2 separate regions of the Homo sapiens genome follow, and region 1 is linked to region 2. Evidence: promoter capture Hi-C in 16 types of primary human blood cells and fetal thymus (Javierre and others, 2016). All regions are on one chromosome and are shown on one strand. Each heading gives the region's core, a stretch centred on a gene start or on the middle of the fragment in contact. The rest is flanking DNA. Distances are from core to core; before and after follow the strand shown. Region 1 overlaps RAD51AP1 (RAD51 associated protein 1). Region 2 holds the start of FOXM1 (forkhead box M1).

Region 1 (4,757 bases), core at 1,654-4,153, 1.7 Mb after region 2:
GAGATTGAAAAGAAAGTAGCTTTTAGTGTCAAGAAATTTATAATCTAGTAAGGAAGATAGAATGCACACACAAAACAGAAGAACACGTACAACGGGAACTTACAAATGCCCAACAGCAATTAAACAGTATAGCAATTATAAATGTTAATTATGTAGATTATTCTTTGTAAGTTACCTGAATTTTTTTCCTTTATCATATAATTGAAAAGCCAACAATACCCAGGTATATCAGGTATAGTTGTAACTATTTTAGCTAATGATAAATCCCCGCGGTAAAATGCAAATCATGTTTTAGAGTTAAATATTCTTACTTGAACCCAAACACATTTTCATTTATTGAAACACATTTCATTTAACACATTTTTATTTATTTCGTTTATTCATTATTTATTAATAAATGAATAATATTAAATAAATAAATAATATTCATTAATAGCCTTAAGTAATAGTGGTGAGAAATTGACATTTGTGTTAATGAAAAAATTCTGTTTTGGTCATAGACATAAGAAACCAGTCAATTACTCACAGTTTGACCACTCTGACAGTGATGGTAAGTAAAGCTTCTTATTTTTGTTCTAAAGATTTGGAAACTCATTTCCTCGGAATTTATATGACATATATAGCTCAAACACTGACTAAATTGCCCAAATGCATATGAGGTAGGTCTGGAAAGATAGTTTTCTAATCATTTGGGATAATTATGCTGATAATTATACTGATAAAAATTATGTTAGTAGGTGATAAATGAACAGGCCAGGTGAAAAGTCTCTTTAGATCTAAACTACTCTAAAGTCCATAGTTGCAACATAGAGGTTTGTCTCCTATTCCATCCCTGAAGAAGGAAAACACTGTCTTTTTGAGATACAAAGATGTTACAGCATATTATATAAAATCCCTATTAATTGTACTATAAAACAAGACCTTGAAGAAAGGTTAGGCTTATGTTATGCCTTTTAAGCATTAGTCATATGTTTACTTGACTCTGCTATGATTGAAAAGTTTGAGGAACATTGCATTAGATTATGTTATATGTTGAAGTGGATTTAATATTTCTTTCTTAGACCACTAGAGTTTTCTGTAAGTCAAATATTTAGTAAGTCTTCGGTTTGAAGGAATCTGTTTTTGCCTTGAGCACAGCCTTAACTGTATCTACCACTTGGGAAAAAGAGTGTAGAGTATAACATCTAGCTTTTTTTTTTTTTTTGTCATCAGTCTGTCATCAGATACTTATAAATTGCCAGGTGTGTAGTAGTAGGTGGGGGGAGTCCTAAGTTATCTTATTTTTACATGGGGAAGCATATAAGAGACAACAAGTATTAGTGCTTGCTGAGTATGTGATGAAGACTGCATAGACCCTGAAAGTATGCATATATGTGTTGTATACATGTGGAAAAGCCACAGCAGTAGTTTTACGTTGACAGTCAAGAGTAGAACTACAACAGTTCAGAGGATTGGTAAGACAGAAAAACCTGTGAGAAACAGTAATGGACTGGAAAAGAACATCCTTTTGCAAGAAAATAAGAAGTTACTTTGGTAGGATCTTAGGAAGATCATTATGGTAATGGAAAGAGAAAATACTACTATTGTAAAAATCCTCAAATAGGAGCTACTTTCTCTTCCCCCCATAATGCTTATTTCCTCTAGCATGGTTAATGTACTAGGAATAGGTAATGGGCTTTTTTTTCTCTTTTTTTTGAGACGGAGTCTCACTCTTGCACCTAGGCTAGAGTGCAACAGCGCGATCTTGGCTCACTGCAACCTCTGCCTCCCAGGTTCAAGCGATTCTCCCACCTCACCTCCTGAGTAGCTGGGATTATAGGTGTCCGCCACCATGCCTGGCTAATTTTTGTATTTTTTAGTAGAGACAGGGTTTCACCACTTTGGCCAGGCTGGTCTTGAACTCGTGACTTCAGGTGATCTGCCCGCCTTGGCCTCCCAAAGTGCTGGGATTACAAGTGTGAGCCACTGTGCCTGGCCCAAGTAATGGGCTTTGAAAAAAGATATTTGGCTACATTGTGAAGTTCCCATAAAAATAATTTATTTCCACTTTTCAATGTGATTAAATTCTACCAATTTTTCTAATGGTTTTACAGGTTTTTAATCATTTTTTCTTTGACACTTATATGCTGTCTTAATTGCTTTTGCAGTTTTTAGTGAATTGGTTTTTGATAGACTGATATTTTTAAATATAAAGGGCACAAAAACAAAAGTCGAAATAGATAAATGAGAGTAAAGATAAACAAAATACTAACAATGATTTTTAAATTGTGGAAATTAAACAATTTGCCTAGCCTATAAAAACTTGAACACACATGGTAATGATTTTCATTTATGAAGAAAATAATATTTTTCTTTTGGTTTTAATTCACACATGAATAGATGATTTTGTTTCTGCAACTGTACCTTTAAACAAGAAATCCAGAACAGCACCAAAGGAGTTAAAACAAGATAAACCAAAACCTAACTTGAACAATCTCCGGAAAGAAGAAATCCCAGTACAAGAGAAAACCCCTAAAAAAAGGTGAGAGGTAAGACATGCAGTAAATATATGACATTAGATGTGTTAATTTTAAAGAGACACAGATTCGAACCCTTGATTTAAATTAGAACTTGGGCAGAGTCATAGGTCTTATTTTACTAGGTGCAGTCAGAAAACAGGACGTACTATTTTTTTCTGGCTTTCTGACTTAAAGAAATTCACAAACATTCAAGGAAGTATCATTAAATATTAAGACAATAATGATTGTAGAATTCAGAAGTTATGACTGGTTTTGACAGGACCCAGCACTTATCTCTGAATTCCTCAAATCATACGAGACTACTTTGTTAAAAATGACATTAGATGACTTAAGATGATTAAGACACAAGATGACTTAATATGAGGACAGTTTTTAAAATATAAAACCATGTATTTTCTTGCAGAAAAAGATGTCTTCTCCCCATGTTGTTAAGATTTATCCAGCAGTGAGAAGTTCCCATAGTTTCTAGACTAACCGTGGAATTCCATTAGATAGTATCAAGAGGCAGAAAGGAGTGAAGGAAGTCCTTAGAGACCCAAAACTTGCAGTATGGAGAAGAGATGGGCGGAAGGGGAATATTAACAAATGGAACATGGCATATATAATGTTTTACTGCCACAAGTTTCTCTATGAAAAGTGAGTTAGCCTGGAGAAACTTACCTCATGTCATGCTCTTTTTTGCTTTTCTTTTTTTTGGTTTTTGTTTGTGAGTTTCTTGTATTACATTTTAAATATATAGAAAAAGGAACCCACACGTGGGAGAAAATATTTGTAAATCAGATAACTGATAAGGGACTGTATCCAGAGTATACACAGAACTCGTAAAACTCAACAGTAAAAAGACTAACAACACAATTTAAAATGTGCAAAAGATTTCAATAGACTTTCTCCAGAGAAGATAAACAAATAACCAATAAACACATGAAAAGATGCTCAATATCATTAGCTGTGAGGGCAATGCAAATCAAAATCAGAATGAGATAATACTTCACACCCACTAGATGACTTAATACAAAAGACAAGGAATGTGGAGAAATTTGAACCCTCATATATTGCTGGTGGGAAAGTAAAATGGTGCAGCTAAATTGGAAAATGGTTTAGCAGTTCCTCAAAATGTTAAACAGAGTTATTACATGACCCAGCCTATGTATGTATCCAAGAGAAATGAAAACATATGCCCACACAAAAACCCATACATGAATGTTCACAGCAACATTATTCATAATAGCTAAAAAAAAATGGAGGCAATCTAAATGTCTATCTGCTAATGAATGGATAAGTAAAATGTGGTTTCCACAAAATGGAATATTTTTCAGCCATAGAAAGAAATGACAACTGATAACTGATATATACTGCAATATGGATGAACCTTGGAAACATCATTCTGAGTGAAAGAAGCCAGATATACAGGTCACATATTACATGATTTCATTTGCATGAAATGTCCAGAATAGGCAAATCCATAGAAACGGAAAGCAGATTAATGGTTGCTAGGAGGGGAGAGGGGTAAACAGGAAGTGAATGCTAATGGGTATGGGGTTTCTTTTTGGGGTAATAAAGATGTTCTGAAATTAGGTAGTGTTGGTGGTTTTACAGCTCTGTGAATGTACTAAAAACTGCTGAATTGTTTACTTTAAAAGGTAAACTTTATGATATGTGAATTATATCTTAAGAAAACTGTTATTCTAAAAAAATAAATTCTTTAAGGTACATCTCAGTGCTTCTTCCTTTATGTAACTTTTCCTTATCTGTCTTTGACGTTTTCTTCCTCTTATACTCCATAGCACTTTTGAGCAGCTTGAATAGGACTTTATAGTCTGCCTTTTATAGGATAATTATTAGCATGTCTTGTTTCCCCACCCTCCTCCTTTAATTGCAGACTCCCTGAAGGTACTTTTAGTATTCCAGCTAGTGCAGTGCCTTGTACAAAGTAAGTGCTTGGTAAAATATTTGTTAAAGTCTGGATTGGGAGGAAGAGATGTAAAAAAATGATAATAATTTTAATTTAATGTAAGAGCTATAAAATCTGCTAAAGGGGAGTGGGTGAGGTCAAGGAAGAGTTTTAAGTGGAAGTGATGTTTGAACCAAGTCTGTTTTGGGTTGAGTAGGGTGTTTCCCACCTGGACACAGCTGGTAGTAAGGTGACACATTACAATGAAAGGGAACAGTCATTGCAAAGAGGCACATGGTCCTCCTATTTCAAACCTCTTATTCTGTATGTAACATGATACTGTGACA
Region 2 (4,613 bases), core at 212-2,711:
GCTAACAGTGTAGTCTTTTTTTTTTAAGTCTTTTGTTGATTTTTTTTAATTTTTTTTTTTTTTTTGAGACGGAGCTTCGCTCTTGTCACCCAGGCTGGAGTGCAATGGCGCAATCTCAGCTCACTGCAACCTCGGCCTCCCGGGTTCAAGCGATTCTCCTGCCTCAGCCTCCCGAGTAGCTGCAATTACAGGCATGCACCACCATGCCCAGCTAATTTTTTTTTTTTTTTTTTAGTAGAAACAGGGTTTCACCATGTTTGCCAGGCTGGTCTTGAACTCCTCAGGTGATCCACCCGCCTCGGCCTCCCAAAGTGCTGGGATTACAGGCGTGAGCCACTGCGCCCGGCCTTTTGTTGATTTTAATAGATACATGGAATATTCTACCATTAAGCAAAATTGTGTAATTCTATTTCACGGAACTTTGGAAGACAGAGGAATTGGCTGTCTCTTTTTTAGGACACTTATTCTCTCCCTGAAAAGCAACTGCACTTTTTTGACATTTGTCATCTGCATAGAGTTCACAGGCCCTCCACACCTCTACCTTCAAATCTCAGTTTTACTTTCACCTCCGATCTTTCCAGGCTTCCCTCTCTCCCCGCATCAATCAGTAGATATTATTCCTCTTTTTCCACAGGATATCTAAGTCTTAATTTTCTCTTCTACTTCCTGACCAGCCCGTTATTATTATTGCCAACACTTTCTTGCCCGGGAAACTTCCAGAGTGGCTCCTCCGACCCATCCCCATCCTGAGCGGGGAAATCTTGCTACATTCTCAAGAACCAGGAAAAGGGCCCTGCAAAAGGGTAAGTAAGATGGAGGCGGTGTTGCCTAGTGGTGAGACAGCCTGGGAGCAGGGGAGTGTGTATGCAGGTTGGTCTTTGACTCAATGTAGTACAATCTCAGTCTTCATCTCAGCCACAGTCGGCCTAAGAAGGTAGGCCACCCCAGCCCTCCCGAGGCCGCGGGCAGGGTGCGGAGGTCAGACTTCCAGGGAAGGCCAAGGGGCGCTTTAAGCAGTGAGAAGGCCACGGCCAGGAGGTGGACGCAGAAAAAACTTGCACCCTGGCTCAGATTCTTCCCGTGTGACCCAAATCTCCACTCGTGGCCCGTGCCCTGCTGCTAGACGCCCTGACCTCCGCGCCCGGAGGCCTTGCTCCCCGCCTGTGCCCAGGCCAGGCCTGGGACTCCATTGCTGCATCCCGCTCACCTCCAGACTGCAGTCGCCGCCGCCGTTAGGCCGTAGCTCCGAAGGCGGGCTCCGGGCTCCTCCAACCTGGGGGCCGAGCCAGGGCCCCGGACGGGGGCTCGCGCCGGACCGGCCGGGTCCCCGGCGGTGCGGGCGGGGTGGGAACCCCGGGGGATCCCGGGAGGGGAGGGGGTCCCGGGCCGGGGCCGGGGGTGGGGTCTGGCACCGGAGCTTTCAGTTTGTTCCGCTGTTTGAAATTGGCGCCGGCGGAGCGTTAAGGTCACGTGACGGAACGTCGCCAATCGGCGCCGGCCTTGTCTCGGCATTCCGGGCTCGAAGGCTGTGCGGTCTGCCAGGAGCTGCGGCCCCGTCCGGCCCGGGCTGGTAAGGCGGACCGCAGGCCGGCTTGTGGGGGAAGAAGTGGCCGTGGGGCCGGGGAGGGGCCGGAGGGGTCCCCGCCGCGTGGGTGGGCGAGCCGAGGGAGAGTTTGGGGACGCGCGGAAGCGGCGTGACAGGCCCGGGTCCCTGGGCCCGCTTTTCCTGCCGCGCTGGTCACGCCAGGCGACACGCCCCCGCTTCCCCTCAGGCTCCTCTGCTCCCCTTTTCAAAGCTCGGCTTTAGTTGATTTCCTCACTGGGGGAAATCGTACCCCATTTTCCCACAGTGAACGATCGTCTGCTCCCCCCGATTAGACTAAGTTCCTTTGAGGGCTGCGTATTATCTCCGCTTTCTTCCATCTTGAAAAAAAATGTCGGCACCATGAACCCTACCTCAGCGCGAAACCTGTCTTTTGCCCCTCCCGAAGCCAAGCCTTCGGATATAATAGACCGTAGTGCTTTATTTATTGACTTAGTCAACCAGTCTAGTTGAGCAACTGCTGTGCGCCAGGCACCGCTAGGCCCTGAAGATACAATGGCAGACAAGGTTCTTTCCTTCCCCTGGGCTCACAGCCCAATCCTGGAAGAGGGGCACAGACATTTTAATCAAATAAACAAATGTGGGCTGGGCATAGTGGCTCACGCCTGTAATCCCAGCACTTTAGGAGGCCGAGGCGGGTGGATCACTTGAGGTCACGAGTTCGAGACCAGCCTGGCAACATAGCGAAACCGCTTCTCTACTAAAAATTAGCCGGGCGTGGTGGTGCGTGCCTGTAGTCCCAGCTACTCTGGAGGCTGAGGTGGAAGGATCACCTGAGGCCGAGAGGTGGAGGCTATGGTAAGCCATGATCACACCACTGCACTCCAGCCTGGGCGACAGAGGGAGACACCGTCTCCAAAACAAACAAATGTTGAATTATTGCTGTAAATTGAAACATTAGAGGTTAATGATACTTTGAGTATTTACAATAACGAGATCTTGAGAGGTAGGACAGGAAAGGCTTTTGTAATGAGAGCTTGGTGTGAGATCTGATGCCTTTTACAAAGAAAGGAGGGAACTCCTCTAAGCAGAGGGAATCAGGCGTGCAAAGGCTGGATGGCAGGAGGAAGCACAGTGAGTACAAAGGCTGAGAAATATCTGAGGGGTTTGAGCTAATCGACCTGAATGGAGTGTGGTGTGAGTTGAAGCTGGAGCCGGAGGAAGCAGAGCCTTAGCCATACCGAGAAGTTTTGTGCTTATCCAAGAATTAAAGGAAACCAGTCATAAGCTTTAAGCAGAAGTGAATCCAGGTCAGATTTGCATTTTAAAAGGTCCCTCTATAGCGGGGATTGCTAGAGTGGATTAGGGCAGAACAGTTGGATGTTGCAATACTCCAGGCAAGAACTGCTGGAGCTTGAAAAAGGGTGGCAGGGAGAGAGAGAGAGGAAGAGAAAGAAGGAGACAGAGAGAGTAAAAAAGGGGCATTAAGAAAACATGTTTAAGAGGTAAAGTTGACAGGGCTTGATGGTGGGTTGGATGGGAGGTAGAAGTGTCAAGATTTTCAGCTGCATAACTGAAGGAATAATGACACTATTCCCTGACCAAGGGCCCTGGAAGATAATCACTTTGGCCAAGGGACGGGCGGGGGGTTGTCAGGGGAATGATCGTGAATTCAGTTTTTGTTTTTTTACTACAAAGCAATGCTCAGAATGAGTTTTTTTTTTAATTATATATTTATTTTTATTTATCTTTTTATTTTTTAGAGACAGGGTCTTGCTCTGTCCCCCAGGCTGAAGTCCAGTGGCATGACCTTGGCTCACTACAACCTCAACCTCCTGGGCTCAGGTGATCCTCCCACCTCAGCCTCCTGAATGGCTGGGACCCCCTACAGGCACATGCCACTACACCCATCTAATTTTTGTATCTTTTGTAGAGACAGGGTCTCACTCTGTTGCCCAGATTGATCTTGAACTATTCGGTTCAAGTGATCCTCCCACCTTCACCTTTCACAGTGTTGGCATTACAGGCATGAGCCACTGTGCGCGGCCAAGTTCAGTTTTAAACTTGTTGAATTTTTTTTTCTTTTCTTTTTTTGAAACAAGGTTCTGGCTCTGTCACTCAGGCTGGAGTTCAGTGGCACGATCTCGGCTCACTGCAGCCTCCACCTCCTGGGCTCAAGTGATCTGCCCACCTCAGCCTCCTGAGTAGCTGGGACTACAGGTGCACGCAGCCGTGCCCACCTGATTTTTTGTATTTTTTGTAGAATTTGGGTTTCACTGTGTTGCCCAGGCTGGTCTCAAACTCATGAGCTCAAGCGATCTGCCCACCCCGGCCTCTGAAAGTGCTGGGATTACAGGCGTGAGCCACTGCGCTCAGCCTTACACATGTTGAATTTGAGGTGCGTTTGAAATATCTAGTTGCTGTTCAGGTAGGTAATGGGATATTTGGGTCCCAAACTTAAGGAATTCTAAAATATATAAATATTGAAGTCATCTACTTCTAGGTGGATACTGAAATACAGGCAGATGAGTTTGCCTAAGAAAAGTATATAGAGTGAGAACAGCTCCAAAGCACAACCAGAGGGGAAGGACTTAGACAGCAGAATGAACTGACCTCTAATTAGAGCAGAAAGAAGATAGATGTTGATACGCATAGGTTTGTATATTTGCTTTCTGGAAAATGAGAGTATTTCCTTTGATGTCTTCTGTATTCTTTGTCAAGTAGGAAGTAAAGTCATTTGTTAAGAGAAAAGGGGTGTTCTGAAGTTCTAAGAAAGTGGGCAGGGTGTGGTGATTCACATGTAATCCTAGCACTTCAGGAGGCTGAGGGAGGAGAATCACTTGAGCCCAGGAGTTCAAGCAAGACCTCATCTCTACAAAAAATAAAATAAGAAACTAACCAGGTGTGGTGGTGCTTGTCTGTATTCCCAGCTATTCGGGAGGCTGAGGCAAGAGGATCTCTCGAGCCCAAGAGTTTGAGGCTGCAGTGAGCTATGATCGTGTCACTGTACTCCAGCCTGGGCAACAGAACAGGACCCCATCTCTAAAAATAATTTTAAAAATTAAAATAA

The links. The method cuts DNA at HindIII sites, captures the fragments that hold promoters and counts their contacts. A CHiCAGO score of 5 or more calls a contact.
Region 1: a contact is called between a fragment that was not itself captured here and the fragment with the promoter of FOXM1 in region 2, in 1 of 17 cell types (neutrophils). The highest score is 5.1, in neutrophils.

The regions. Positions count from the first base shown.
Region 1 is chr12:4,541,384-4,546,140 of GRCh38, forward strand. It overlaps RAD51AP1 (RAD51 associated protein 1), which reads left to right. Exons shown (of 9, transcript NM_006479.5): 2 at 501-550; 3 at 2,380-2,521. Among named protein-coding and RNA genes, the nearest start is that of RAD51AP1, 4.9 kb to the left of the region's middle. The HindIII fragment of the contact is 4,691 bases long and covers 559-4,757 here.
Region 2 is chr12:2,875,713-2,880,325 of GRCh38, forward strand. It overlaps FOXM1 (forkhead box M1), which reads right to left and starts at 1,462. Exons shown (of 9, transcript NM_021953.4): 1 at 1,208-1,462. RHNO1 (RAD9-HUS1-RAD1 interacting nuclear orphan 1) reads left to right here and starts at 1,511. Exons shown (of 3, transcript NM_001252499.3): 1 at 1,511-1,570. RefSeq lists silencers at 1,218-1,287, 1,328-1,767 and an enhancer at 3,351-4,304. The HindIII fragment of the contact is 3,757 bases long and covers 1-2,829 here.